4 separate regions of the Homo sapiens genome follow, and all the other regions are linked to region 1. The links are contacts of gene promoters, found by promoter capture Hi-C in human tissues and cell types (Jung and others, 2019). All regions are on one chromosome and are shown on one strand. The core of a region is centred on a gene start or on the middle of the fragment in contact, and the rest is flanking DNA. Distances in the headings are between cores, read along the strand shown.

The links. Contacts are between HindIII fragments. The study calls those that stand out against the background at their distance.
Region 2: a fragment that was not itself captured here is called in contact with the fragment with the promoter of SLC35F6 in region 1 in 2 of the 25 tissues and cell types used here (heart right ventricle and mesendoderm cells).
Region 3: a contact is called between a fragment that was not itself captured here and the fragment with the promoter of SLC35F6 in region 1, in 2 of the 25 tissues and cell types used here (liver and neural progenitor cells).
Region 4: a fragment that was not itself captured here is called in contact with the fragment with the promoter of SLC35F6 in region 1 in 3 of the 25 tissues and cell types used here (liver, mesendoderm cells and thymus).

What each region holds. Positions count from the first base shown.
Region 1 is chr2:26,762,774-26,766,068 of GRCh38, reverse strand. SLC35F6 (solute carrier family 35 member F6) reads right to left here and starts at 1,785. Exons shown (of 6, transcript NM_017877.4): 1 at 1,643-1,785. The coding sequence starts at 1,719. RefSeq lists a silencer at 1,609-1,918 and an enhancer at 1,929-2,128. The HindIII fragment of the contact is 8,469 bases long and covers 601-3,295 here.
Region 2 is chr2:26,996,107-26,999,401 of GRCh38, reverse strand. All of the region lies in intron 1 of MAPRE3 (microtubule associated protein RP/EB family member 3), which reads right to left. MAPRE3-AS1 (MAPRE3 antisense RNA 1) reads left to right here. Exons shown (of 6, transcript NR_149018.1): 2 at 2,482-2,530. Among named protein-coding and RNA genes, the nearest start is that of MAPRE3-AS1, 17 kb to the left of the region's middle. The HindIII fragment of the contact is 9,878 bases long and covers 1-3,295 here.
Region 3 is chr2:26,569,948-26,573,242 of GRCh38, reverse strand. All of the region lies in intron 1 of CIMIP2C (ciliary microtubule inner protein 2C), which reads right to left. Among named protein-coding and RNA genes, the nearest start is that of CIMIP2C, 9.0 kb to the right of the region's middle. The HindIII fragment of the contact is 4,458 bases long and covers 1-3,295 here.
Region 4 is chr2:26,893,258-26,896,552 of GRCh38, reverse strand. The region is part of intron 1 of DPYSL5 (dihydropyrimidinase like 5); the gene reads right to left. Among named protein-coding and RNA genes, the nearest start is that of DPYSL5, 47 kb to the right of the region's middle. The HindIII fragment of the contact is 5,689 bases long and covers 1-3,295 here.

The DNA.
Region 1 (3,295 bases), core at 536-3,035:
GGCGACGCCTTCTGGGATTGAGGATCTCTAAGCTTCCTACCTGACTGGTTTGGAGTTTTCTAAGGAAGGAGGTGAATCAGCACAGTTTACCCCAGCAGTAACTGGCAATCTGGATTCTCCTTGTGGGCAGCAGCCCTGGTGGACTTACAACCGCTCTCTAAGCACTTGACAGAGGCCCTGGCTGGCATGACAGAACAGAAGACTTGCTTTGCTGTGTTCAGATCCTGAGATGGGAGCCCTCAGGCTGGGGCCTCTGAACAGCTAAGGATTCAGCATGAGGAGTGATCCTCAGGAGGATGCAGGGCCTGGGAAGCTAGTAGTTCTCCACAAGGCACAGTTGGCCAGAGGTGAACCAGAGGAACAGGTGGGGCCCACCCAGGACTCCACTGACTGTGCCCACCGTTTGGGGAAGGGAGAACACTGTGACTGTCGTGTGCGTACACGTCTGTCTCCTCCACCTCAGATTCCAAGCATCTCAAAGGCAGAGATCGCCTCTTGGTCACTTCTGTCCCCTTCCCTTACACACCGTAGGTACCTTATACATGGGATCGTGCCATTGCACTCCAGCCTGGGCAACAAGAAAAGGAGGGGCAGGAAGGCCCTGCCCTGAGATGGAGACAGAGAGAGACAAAGAAATGCCATCCTGCCCACAACAGAGGGGAGGCTAGGCCCTGTCCCTCAGTCTCATGACTGCCTGGGTCCTTAGTCCCTAACCTCCTGGGAACTGTCCCCCCTCTCACCCCCATACATCAGAGCTGAACTGGCCACTTGCCCTCTCTGTCTGAGTTAATGGCACTTTTCTTCTCCCAGGCAGAAACCCTGGAGTGATCCTTGTTTCTTGCTCATGTGGGTCAGGCCTGTGGCCATTCACACCTGGTCTCTGCCACCAGTTGTCCCTTCCTTTCTCTTCTCACTGCCACCTCCTAGTTCCCCTCATCTGCTATGCAGCAGCCTTGGAGTGGTTTTTCCTGCACCAAACCACTCCTCATGTCATTGAGTCAATCATATCACTTTCAACATGTCATTCCCCAGCTCAAAAGCACTTTTCTGATTATGAGAGAAAATCTAACCTGGGCATTTGATGCTGGTTACAATCGACTTTGATCTGGCCTTTCCGTAGACTTTCCTTGACTTACAGTCTCAGACACATTCCGAAATCCCACCTAAGCTTCAAAGCACAGCTCTAACCCCTCATCCTTGAGGGGCCGTGGGGCACCTCCCTGTCTGCCGCTTGAGGCCTCCACGCTCACTGGGTCACTCGGCCTGCACAGCCACTACTGCGGCTCATGTGCACAAGTCCAGGGGTCTCTCCCAGCTCGTGGAGGGAGGTGCTCAGGCTTGGACGCCAGCACTGGAAGGGCCGTGGAAAGGAATCGGCCAACCCTCCTGTTAAAAGACGTGGAAACAGGAGCGGAGGCTGTACAGCAAATCAAAGCCGGGGCTCGGATCCCCCCGTCCGGGGCGCAGCCCCGCTCCGCATTTCCCCGGGCCTCGCATCCCTTGGGTGGTCATAACGCGCGCGAACTGACCGGAGCAAGTGGGAAAGCAGGGGAAGCCAGGAGGGCAGGGCCAAGAAGGGGGAAGGCGTAGAACGAGCGCCGGGGTCGCCAGGGCCCGCACGCCCGGCAGGGCCCAGACTCACTTTGCCGAGAGCGTGTTGATGGAGCCGGTAACAAGCATGAGCCCGGCCAGGAACAGCTGGTACTTGGTCCAGGCCATGTCGGCGGACGCTGGGGTTCGCTCCAGTTAGCGGCGCCGGGCCCCGTCACCCGGGGTCTCCTGCGCGAGCGCTTCCGGGCCGGGCGTCACGTGACCCCTCCTGCTCGCCCCGCCCCCGGGGAGCGCGCCTGAGCCACGGTGCCCGCGCTCTGCCGAGTCGTCCTGGAGCGCTTTGGTGGCCACGCCGTGGCCCTGGCAAATCACGGCCCAGGCCTTCCAGTTTTTTTTTTCTTTTCTTCCTCACTCTCCCCCGCCTTTTTGGGTTTCTTTTTTCTATTTTTTTGAGAAGGAGTCTCACTCTGTCGCCCAGGCTGGAGTGCAATGGCATGATCTCGGCTCACTGCAATATCCGCCTCCTGGGTTCAAGCGATTCTCCTGCTTCAGCCTCCCGAGTAGCTCGGATTACAGGCGCCCTTCACCACGCCCGGCTAATTTTTTGTATTTTTAGTAGAGACAGGGCTTCACCATGTTGGCCAGGCTGGTCTCGAACTCCCGACCTCAGGTGATCCGCCCTCCTCCGCATCCCAAAGTATTGGGATTACAGGCGTGAACCACCGCGCCTGGCCTTGGTTTCTTATTTTTATCTTTGGGTCTTCCTATTTGTAAAAGGGGCGGATGGGACAGTGCAGTGAGGGTGCATCGTGGCTATTACAGCATTTTGTGAATCGTTTTGAGAGGTTGAGCTGGGCGGTGTCAGAAAGGAGCCCTGAAGTGGGCCTGCCGGGAGTTCCTTGGGGACCCTGTAGAGAGGAGATTCCCACGCTGGACGTTTCCACTTCGGGGCTCCTATCTGATACCGCCCACCTTGGGCACAGTTCATATCTTTCAGCAAAGTGGCGAAGGCATCTAGCTCCAGTTGCCGAGGACACCATTTTATAGCTGAGGACAGTAAATTCAGCGAAGCAGAGTGATTTGCTTAAGAACCTGCTGGTGAGCAGTGGGGTAGGGATTTGCGCTTGGGTTCTCCAGTCTCCAAAAATCCGTGCCTTCCGCATGGCCTCTGCACCAAGCCCTGCTTCACTGCTCCTTTGTGGACTTTCTGGTCGCAGCTGAGGCATCCAGGCAGAAAGACCATCCCTAGGTTTGTTTGAAGAGGGTGTTGACGAAGAGTCACACTCTAAAATATTTGAAGGGATTTATTCTGAGCCAAATATTTGTGACCATGGCCCGTGACACAGCCCTCAGGAGGTCCTGAGAACATGTGCCCAAAGTGGTCGGGGCGCAGCATTTTAGAAAGACACGAGACATCAATCAAATACATTTAAGAAATACATTGGTTTGGTCCAGAAAGGTAGGACAACTCAAAGCCGGGAGGAGGGGAGAGGGTGGGGCAGGAAACGGGAAAAATATCTATCTATGTTAATAGAGATTTTTGTTTTTTTTTGAGACGGAGTCTTGCTCTGTCGCCCAGGCTGGAGTGCAGTGGTGCGATCTCGGCTCACTGCAACCTCCACCTCCCGGATTCAATCAGTTCTCTGCCTCAGCCTCCCAAGTAGCTGGGACTACAGGTGCCTGCCACCACGCCTGGCTAAATTTTGTATTTCTAGTAGAGATGGGGGGGGTCTCACCATGTTGG
Region 2 (3,295 bases), core at 368-2,867, 230 kb before region 1:
TGATTTTTCTCATTCATCTTGTCCCTTCCATTCTCACTGACATCATCCTTGTCCAGGTTGTTGCCATTTTGTGACTGGATAGTATTCCTGCCTCTGGTCCCTATTCTTTCAACTTTTCCTGCTACTCATTGCAAGACAAACTTTCCAAAAACACTGCTTTAGTTACCCCCTTCCCCTAAGCACCAATGGCTCTCTATATCTCTATTCTGTAGGATCAAGACCAAACATCTGTAGGATCAATTCCACTTCCTTCTTCCCCAAACCCTTTCTCTGATGTCTCCAACCCCAAGCCCCTCACTTCAGTCAGACTGTTGTTCTTCCTCCTGCCAGTCTCCCTAATACTGAATCCCTCCCCGCCTTGGCTTGTACTGGAATGCTCTCCTCCTTTCAAGGCCAAGCTCATGTCCCACCATTTCTGTGAGCACTAGCTGACAGAATCAGGATTCCAAAGTGCTGTGACAGGCTATAGGAAGAAGCTAAACCACTCCAAATAAACACATACTAGGTTCTGCATTTGTATCTTAAAAAACAAATGGAAGATATTTGGCAGAAGATATAAGGTTTGCAAAACTGTGTGCAAAAGACATAAGGATTTTACACTGGCATGTACTCTCTCCAGTGTCAACTCCCCTGGAAAGTTTTTCCTGACTCCCAGCCTGTTCCTCTGGGCTGGGTTAGCCTAGCCTTCTGGGTACTTCTGTAATACTGTGTGGAGATACTTCTAACACAGAAGTATGTCTATTTCTTCCACGTCACTAGGAGCTTCCCCAGGGCTGGGATTTTTTTCAGCCCTATTGTATGGCATGGTGTCCAGCACATAGAATGTTCTCAGATATTAGCAGAACTGAACTGAGGCTCAGAGAGCTTAGGTAACATGCTCAAGGTAACACAGCCAGTGAGAACAGAACTGATTTGAAACTAGATATCTGGTTATAAAGTCCTTCTTCTAGAATGAGGAAAGTGATAATATTCCTCCCCTCTGGGCTTGTCAGATGACACCTGTAATACTGACTTCAGTTCTGTGCAGCAAACTTTTAGAATAACATTCACAAGCAGGCCTGTTTAAAGAGAAAGACCATGACAGTGAGTGGAGTGGATATGCTCCAATCTCGGTCAGCCAAGGACCTGGTGGAGAAACTAAGGGGTTAGCTTAGAGACAGAAGAAAAACTCAGCATGACATGAGAACTGCCTTTAATGACTTAAGGGCCCAGAGGAAGAATAGGGATTACACTTATTTTCTGTGACCACAGCGTTTGTAAAACTGTGACCAAAGTGTTGAAGATACAGAAAAACAGATGTTGACCCACTGAAGACAAACATTCCCAGTACTGCTTCAGTTAAAGCAGTTAACTGACAGCTTTAACATGGTTAAAGGCAGCATGTCTACCCCAGGAAAGGGTGAGGTCCCACCATGGCAGGTCTTCAAGCTGATGACACCCTGTGGGCATGCCCTATCGGGGTCAAGAACCAGACTGAAGGCTGGACTAGCTGAGATTTTATGTTTAGATGACTTCTTAAGGTCCCTTCTAATAGATGCAACAATTCTATTATTCTGTCTTCGTTGACCTCTCTAGCCTTCAGCAATTCCTTACTCCTCTACATTTAGTGAATATTGAGTTTACATAATTCACTTGAGGATTAAGCATATATGTACCCTGCTACACAACATTTAAGTTACCAAACTATCCTTTCTACCAGGGATTACCAAACTATCCTTTCTACCAGGGATTCCCAACCCCCAGGCTGTGGACTAGTACGGGTCCGTGGAATGTTAGGAACCAGGCTGCACAGCAACAGCGAGCATTCCCGCCTGAGCTCCACCTCCTGTCAGATCAGCGGCGGCACCAGATCCTCACAGAAGCGCAAACCCTATTGTGAACTGTGCATTTGAGGAATCTAGGCTGCGTGTTCTGTATGAGGATCTAACTCAGGGCTGTCCAATCTTTGGGCTTCCCTGGGTCACACGGGAAGAAGAATTGTCTTGGGCCACACATAACATACGCTAACACAAAGGACAGCTCATGAGCTAAAAAAAAAAATCACAAAAAAACTCCATGTTTTAAGAAAGTTTACAAATTTGTGTTGGGCCACATTCAAAGCTGTCCTGGGCTGCATGCGACCCATGGGCTGCGGATTGGACAAGCTTGATCTAAGTAATGCCTGATGATCTGAGGTGGAAATTTCATTCTGAAACCAACCCCCACCCTCTACCCCATCCATGGAAAAACTGTCTTCCACAAAACCTTGGTGCCAAAAAGGTTGGGGACTGCTAATTTCTACTATTGCCATTTAATTTTTTTTTCAAATATCTTCCCAAAAAGATAAGTGCCTTGAAGTCAGGGATCACATATCATGTATTTTACAACTTTGGTCTCCAGATATCTACACTAGTTCAAAATAGAATAAAAATATTTTAAATGCTTACTTCACAACTTGACTTTAATTTCTCTGCTAATGGGCTTGTCTTTTCTCTCTTGAAGATCCCCTGGAAAGTGAGAGCCGTTTCTTCACTAGATACTTTCCCTCCAGGTATTTTTCTGTTCCTCAGGTGAAGGGTTTATTTTTATTTATTTATTTATTTATCTATTTATTTTGGGATGGAGTCTCGCTCTGTCGCCCAGGTTGGAATGCAGAGGTGTGATCTTGGCCCACTGCAAGCTCCGCCTCCCAGGTTCACGCCATTCTCAGGTTCACGCCATTCTCCTGCCTCAGCCTCCCGAGTAGCTGGGACTACAGGCGCCCACCACGGCGCCCGGCTAATTTTTTGTATTTTTAGTAGAGACGGGGTTTCACTGTGGTCTCGATCTCCTGACCTCATGATCTGCCCGCCTCAGCCTCCCAAAGTGATGGGATTACAGGCTTAAACCACCGCGCCCGGCCCTGGTGAAGGGTTTAACAAGGAAACCTTGTATGGTTAGTCTCTGCTAGTTAAGAAAACTCCTGTTGGCTGGGTGTGATGGCTCACACCTGTAATCCCAGCACTTTGGGAGATGAGGCAGGAATATCGCTTGAGCCCAGGAATTCAAGACCAGTGTGGGCAACATAGTGAGGCCTTCATCTCTACTAAAAATAAAAAAGATTAGTGGGGCAAGGTGGTGCACACCTGTATTCCCAGTTATTCGGGAGGCTGAGTGGGGAGGATCAAGCTGGAGCCCGGGAGATCCAGGCTGCAGTGAGCTATGATCTCACCACTGTACTCCAGCCCGGGCAACAGAGTAAGACCTTGTTTCAAAAATAAATAAAATAAAATAAAATAAAATAAAATAAAATAAAATAAAATAAAATTCCTATCTT
Region 3 (3,295 bases), core at 255-2,754, 190 kb after region 1:
GGAGCTCACTAAGGAATACGCTGCATCTTCTGCCTGATTTCTCAACTCTCACCCTTTCCTTGACCTCCCTCAGTCTGCCTTCAGACCCACCATTGAAACGTGAACCTCTACATCTAAATTAAGGTCATATCAGGTCCTGCTGTTGCCAAATCCAATGTCCTCGGCTCACACTGTCCCGCTGCAACATTCGCACTGATGAAGAAACTTGTTTGGGAAAAAACCTAACCTGTGACGTGTAAGCAAGTTCCTGAGAGCACTTCGTGCTGTAGATGAAGCTTAATCAAGATATAGATTCAATAAATTAAGATGTCAAAGACAAGTGATGGGGAGATGCTGCCTCCTCTATCCTGAGGGCTCCTCCCACGTGGAGGGGAGGTTCCTCCCACACTGGAACCATCGGGCAGCCTGTGGCCCACCTCTCCCCTCCCTCCTTCTCCTCCTCGGAAGCAAGGAAGCCTGCTCCGCCCCTCCAAGCCTTAGGTGTTAGATGGACAGGCTCTGCCCGTGGGGAGGAGGCCGGCCCCAGCGCCTGTCTCATTCTGAGGCTGTGTTCACCCCATTCTCTAACAGCCACATTCCTCTTTCACCTTCTTTCTCAAGTGGTTCAGAATGTAGGGAATGGAAGAGATGCTCATCTCCAGGTGCTGCCAACCCCAGCAAAAAGATGAAGTGATAGAATGAAAGGCAAAGGAAGATACCCACAGCATTCCGCAGGGAAAAGAGCATAACCCAAGAATACCACACCAGCCAGGCGGTCACAGGGGTACAAAGCCACCCTTTCCTAGCATGAAAGGGCTCAGCAACTAAAGCACCCACAAGCTCTTCTTGAAAGTCATGTTCAGCGACAAAATCCTGCCAATCAAGAGATGATTCAAGAGAAAAAAAAAAAAAAACCAACTCAGTAATGTAGAGCCTCTGTTAGAATGAGTGGTGGTGAGCTTCAAATCTATTGAAGTGCAGAACCAGGAATAGCAACTAGGTGAATGCTAGTTACAGAATGGAATGTAAATGTTATAAAACCTGTCAAAGTAAAACTAATTTAAGCAACCAAAATTGGGGGGTGGGTGGAGGGGAGATGGGGGTGCACTTACTAAGAATCTCTTTAAATCAGAGTCAACCCATGGCATCTAAAATTGAAACACATCGTTAGAAAAAAGTACAACATAATGGCTTTAGTCCTTTGATGGTTTTTATCCTCTCTCTCTCTCCTATAGTGGGATCTTTTTGTACTAATATCTCTTGTGATGAATTAACACTTATCTCAAATCTACTTATTCTTCCATTTTACTTCAGTTTCTTTCTCTTCAGTTAAGTTCTATTAAGATTCAATTTCATGCTTTTCATTTTAAAATAGCAAATATGGTATGATTATATTTTTATAAAGTTGCTTTTGTCTGTCTTTATATCCATCCATCCATCCGTCCATTCACTCCTCCATCTAGTCCTTTATCTGAATATACACATAAGGTCTACAGCCATACCACCCTGAGCGCGCCCGATCTCGTCTGAATATACACATAAAGAGAAACTCTGAATAAAATGCACCAAACGTTGACCCTGGATAATTCAGGGTGTTTGGATTTCGGGTGATTTGTGGCTTTCTTCTTTGTACACACATCATTTTTTAAAAACAGAGTCAGATGGCATGAAACATTAATTTATCAGGAACCTGCTGTGTGCTGGCACCATACTAAGTGCTGGGAACACAAAGACCCACGGTGCTCAGCCTGCCTTCCCCAAGCCCAATCCTCACTCGGTGTTTACTGAGTCATGGGGTGCATGTGTCAGGCGCCATGCTGAGCTGGCCTGGGTACAACCAGCTCCAACCCAAGTGGGACCATGGTCAAGGTTCTAGTGCTATCAACCACAAGGAGGGAAGGCCATTCCCAGGGTGGGTACTGGAGGAGCTCCATGACAAGTGTCCACTGGGGTGAGGCTTTGAGGAAAGTCCCAGGGCAGGGGGAGCCCCTGGGTCTGGCTCCTTCCCCAGGCGATGGTGTTGCCCCAGGGTCCTCTTCTCTTTTCAGGGACCCATTCCTTCTGGGAGATCTCATCTGTGTTAGACTTCCAACATGTCCCGTATGTCAATGACAGCCTCTCTACCTCTGGGTCTCCAGCCTCCACCATTCTGGCAATGGATCCACATGCCTGGCAATGGATCCACACAAGGCTGGGCCACCACGCCACAGACTCAGCGCCACTGAAACTGCTCTTCCTCCAGTATATCCCTGCCCCCTCCAACCTCCACCTAAGCCAGAAACTGGGACTTGATGGCTTCTCCATCACCCTCCATCACCCTCCACATCTGACCTCTCCCTAAGTCCTGCTTAGGCCCCTCCTTAGCCACTGGCCTGTGGCCCTCCTCCATCCCACTGCTGCGAGCCTCCCTCATTGCTTGCCTGGACAATCTCCAATCTCCTCCCTGGTCTAAATGGAGCATCACCCCCTCCAGCCTGCTGTCCATACAGCACCAGAGCCATCCCTCCTCTCGCCCATCACTGCACTGTAGGTGCCCTGGGCCCCAGCAGCGTTACTCCCAGTCTCTGGGGCCCCACTTGCTCTTCAGGCCTCTGGGCCTTTGCATGGAATTCCTTTCCCTGGGATGCATTTTCCCTGTTGCCCATCTGGGGATCTGCCACCCACTCCTAAGGATCCAGTGCCCTCTGCTACCTCCCCTGACTGCACACCCTGTACCTAGCACCTGCCTCACTGAGAGGACTATCATCCTCAAGTCCACACTCAGACCCGAATGAACTTGTCTCTTCTTCTGCTAATCCGTGTTCTCCTTTATCCTTGGCACCTGGCACATGACAAGTGCTCAACAAATGTTCACTGGAGGAGGCAGAATTCCAGAAACTCTGGGGGCACCATGCCCTGGAGTCCTGATTTAAGAGGAGCGTGGCTCTGATCAGCAGAGCACATGCTGGCATGAAGCATCCCGCCTACAGGGGCGATGGGCTCCTCCGAAGAAAGGAGCCATAGAAAAATGATGTGTTCTCGTGATTCTTCTCTCCGCCCCCAAGCTCTCTGCCATACTCCTCCTCTGCTCCCTGCTTCTCCACCTTCTCTGAATGCCACGATATTTGCATCCCAATAGAATAGAAGCCCTCTCCTCCGCAATCCTCCTGAGTTCTGCCTGGCTTCTGTTCAGGGCTTACTGCTCAGGCAGGTGTGTGTGCACTCACACACTTGCACACATGGGCAGGTTCACATTCTTTAGCACTCAGTGGGCGCATCTTGGCAAGCTAGGTCTGTGTCCCTTATATGCACCTGCATTTGTGTTCCTTTGAGCATG
Region 4 (3,295 bases), core at 275-2,774, 130 kb before region 1:
AAGATAAGTGTTGGCAAGGATGTGGAGAAAAGGGAACTCTTGTACACTGTTGGTGGGAATGTAAATTAGTATAGCCATTATGGAAAACAGTATACAGAATCCTTAAAAACTTAAAAATAGAACTACTATATGGTCCAGCAATCCCACTACTGGGTATATATCCAAGGGAAATGAAATCAGATGTCGAAGGGATATCTGCATTTCCTTGTTTGCTGCAGCATTATTCACAATAGCCAATATATGGAATCAACCTAAGTGCCCATCAATGGATGAATGGATGAAAAAGATGTATATACACACAATAGAATACTGCTCAGCCATAAAAAAGGGGGAGGTCCTGTCATGTGTAATAACTTGGATAAATCTGGAGAACATCAGGTTAAGTAAAATAAGCCAAGCACAGAAAGACAAATACCACATGCTCTCACTCCTACGTGGAACCTAAAAAAGTTGATCCATAGAAATAGAGAACAGAGGCTGGGTGCGGTGGCTCATGCTTGTAATCCCAGCACTTTGGGAGGCCGAGGTGGGTGAGTCATGAGGTCAGGAGTTCAAGACCAGCCTGCCCAAGATAGTGAAACCCCGTCTCTACTAAAAATACAAGAACTAGCCGGGCGTGGTGGTGGGTGCTTGTAATCCCAGCTACTCGGGAGGCTGAGGTAGAGAATTGCTTAAACCGGGGAGGCAGAGGTTGCAGTAAGCCGAGATCATGCCACTGCCCTTCAGCCTGGGCGACACAGCGAGACGCCATCTCAAAAAAAAAAAAAAAAAAAAAAAGAAAAAGAAATAGAGAACAGAATGGTGGTTATCAGTGGCTGGAGTAGTTGGGGTAAAGGGGAGTTGGGGAAATGTTGGTGAAAAGATACAAAATTTCAGTTAAATAAGTTTAAGAGCTCTATTGTACAACATGGTGACTATAGTTAATAATAACATTGTATTCTTGAAAAATGCTTTGAGTATGGCTATCAAGTGTTCTAACCTCTCATTATATGAGGTAATTCATCTATTAATTAACTGGATTTAGTCATTCCACAATGCGTATGTGCTTCAAAACATCATGTTGCACACAACAAATACATACAATTTTATCTGTCAATATAAAAAAAGAAAAAACACACATAGGACTTGTATGCTGAAAACTACAAAATGCCAATGAAAGAAATCAAAGACAATCTAAGTAAGTGGAGAGACATACCATGTTCATGGATTGGAAGACTCAACATGGTGTCAATTCTCCCCAAATTGACATACATGTTTAATGCAATTCCTATTAAAATCCCAGCACAAATCTTTTGCATATTATTGTCAAAATGTATGTGGACTGGCAAAGGAACTAGAACAGCTAAAGCAAACTCCACAAAGAAGAATAAAGTCAGAGGAATCAGTCTACTTGATTCCAAGACATATTACATAGCTATAGTAATCAAGACTGCATGATCTTGACAACTATGGTCAACTGATTTTTGACAAAGGTGCAAAAGCAATTCAATGAAGGGAGGACAGTCTTTTCAACAATTGGTGTTGGATATTCATAGGCCAAAAACCCAGCCTTAATTTAAACCTAAAATCTTATATAAAAATGAACTCAAAATGGATTATGCATCAAGTAACCACATATGACACCACTGACTACTCCCTCCTCTGTAGAGCTCCCTTCCCTTAGCATTAAATGGAGCCATGCAGTGAAGTGGGGGCAAGGACCACAGAAGATCTTGACCTCTGCTTTGGAAATCAGTGAGACTTTGATGAACTCTGACTGAAGGCAAGTTTGTGGAGACTGTGTATACAGTCGTCAAGATCTCTGTGAGTAAAGAAAGCCTAGAAACGGCCCAAGGAGCATGGCTGAGGGAAAGTATCAATTTTAGGACTAATATTTTTCAGGGAGTGAAGAAGGAGCCAAGGGAGAGATTAAAGGTCTAAGAGATCAAGGGACTATTTTTGATGTGAGCTCCCGAAGGAGGTAGCATAGAATAATGGCAACCATCATTAACAGAAGGCCTCAACAAACAAGGCCCTCACTTGTCAATTTACATGGCTTGCTTGATTAGATCCCTCCAACAATCCTGTGGGGAAGGTATTATTATGCCCACCTTGCCAAAGAGGAAAGAGATACAGAGAGGTTAAAGTCAAAGGCTTGTAGGAGGAGGTGATGTGCAGATGCAGAAGAGACAGGCATATAAGCGAGTTTGCATTCTCTCTGCTCTGCAAAGCTGGGGGCTGAGAGCTCGTGGGAGTGGTACAGAATGAGTGGATTTGAGAAGAGTGTGAAGATGTGGGGGAGCCACTGCAGGGACCTGAGAAGTGAAATGGGGTGCACATAGGAAATGGGGCCAGTGCTGAGGGCAACTCAGATAGCTGTGGTCATGGTGAGTTGCTTAAAATTTCCATCCAGGGGGCACACTTTGGTTAATATCCAAAATAAGTAAGGAATTATCTATAATAATAAGGATTTATATTTATAATATGAATTATAATTATATAATTATAAGTATATAAAATTGTTATATTTATATTTATAATATAAATTCTAATAAGGATTTATAATAATAATAAGGATATGCAACTCTCTTGACCCTTAGATATCTGAACAGAAAATATTTACATTCAGGCTTAGAAAATATAGGACAAACTCTGACCAGCAGGAAGGAGATTACGCCATTGCAGTGTGTCCTTGAGGTAAAATAAAGCCCACTTTTATACGCAGTAAATTTCTCGTTCTTCAGGGCCCAATTGTCCCCTCTTCTGAAAAGTTTTCTCTGACTCTCTTTGTGCCTTCACTAGATCCATTGCCTTCACGGCACTAGATTCTCTCTCCACCTATGGAGTAGGGTCCTCAAAGACAGTCCTATCAGTCATCTTTGTCTCCGCCCGCTCCCCATCCTCAGCATCCAGTACAGAATACTCAAAACTGGTGAATAAACGAATAAATAGCCCCATCTACTTGTTGCACTCTAACACAATCAAAATGGTTTAAAGCAATGAGTAGTAGACCAATTCCATGTTTGTTTTCAGGGATATTTTGCAACTCTATGTCCAGGATAAGGCTCAATTTTCCTAACACAGCTAATTACGGTGAATAGAACAAAGGGAGCAACATATTTTCTCTCATCCTCATCATTTAACTTTGTCTGTCACCAGGGAAGTTCTGGGAAGGCTGTGTCCCAGGATGAAAAGGCCTTGGGGATCTATTAAAGGAGTACCTCTTGTAAGGGCACATGTCAGATATTTGGAGATCATAGCCTGTTCTCCTGGAAACAGTTGGTTTATTTTTTGCCAAGTTGGCCAGGCTCAAGTG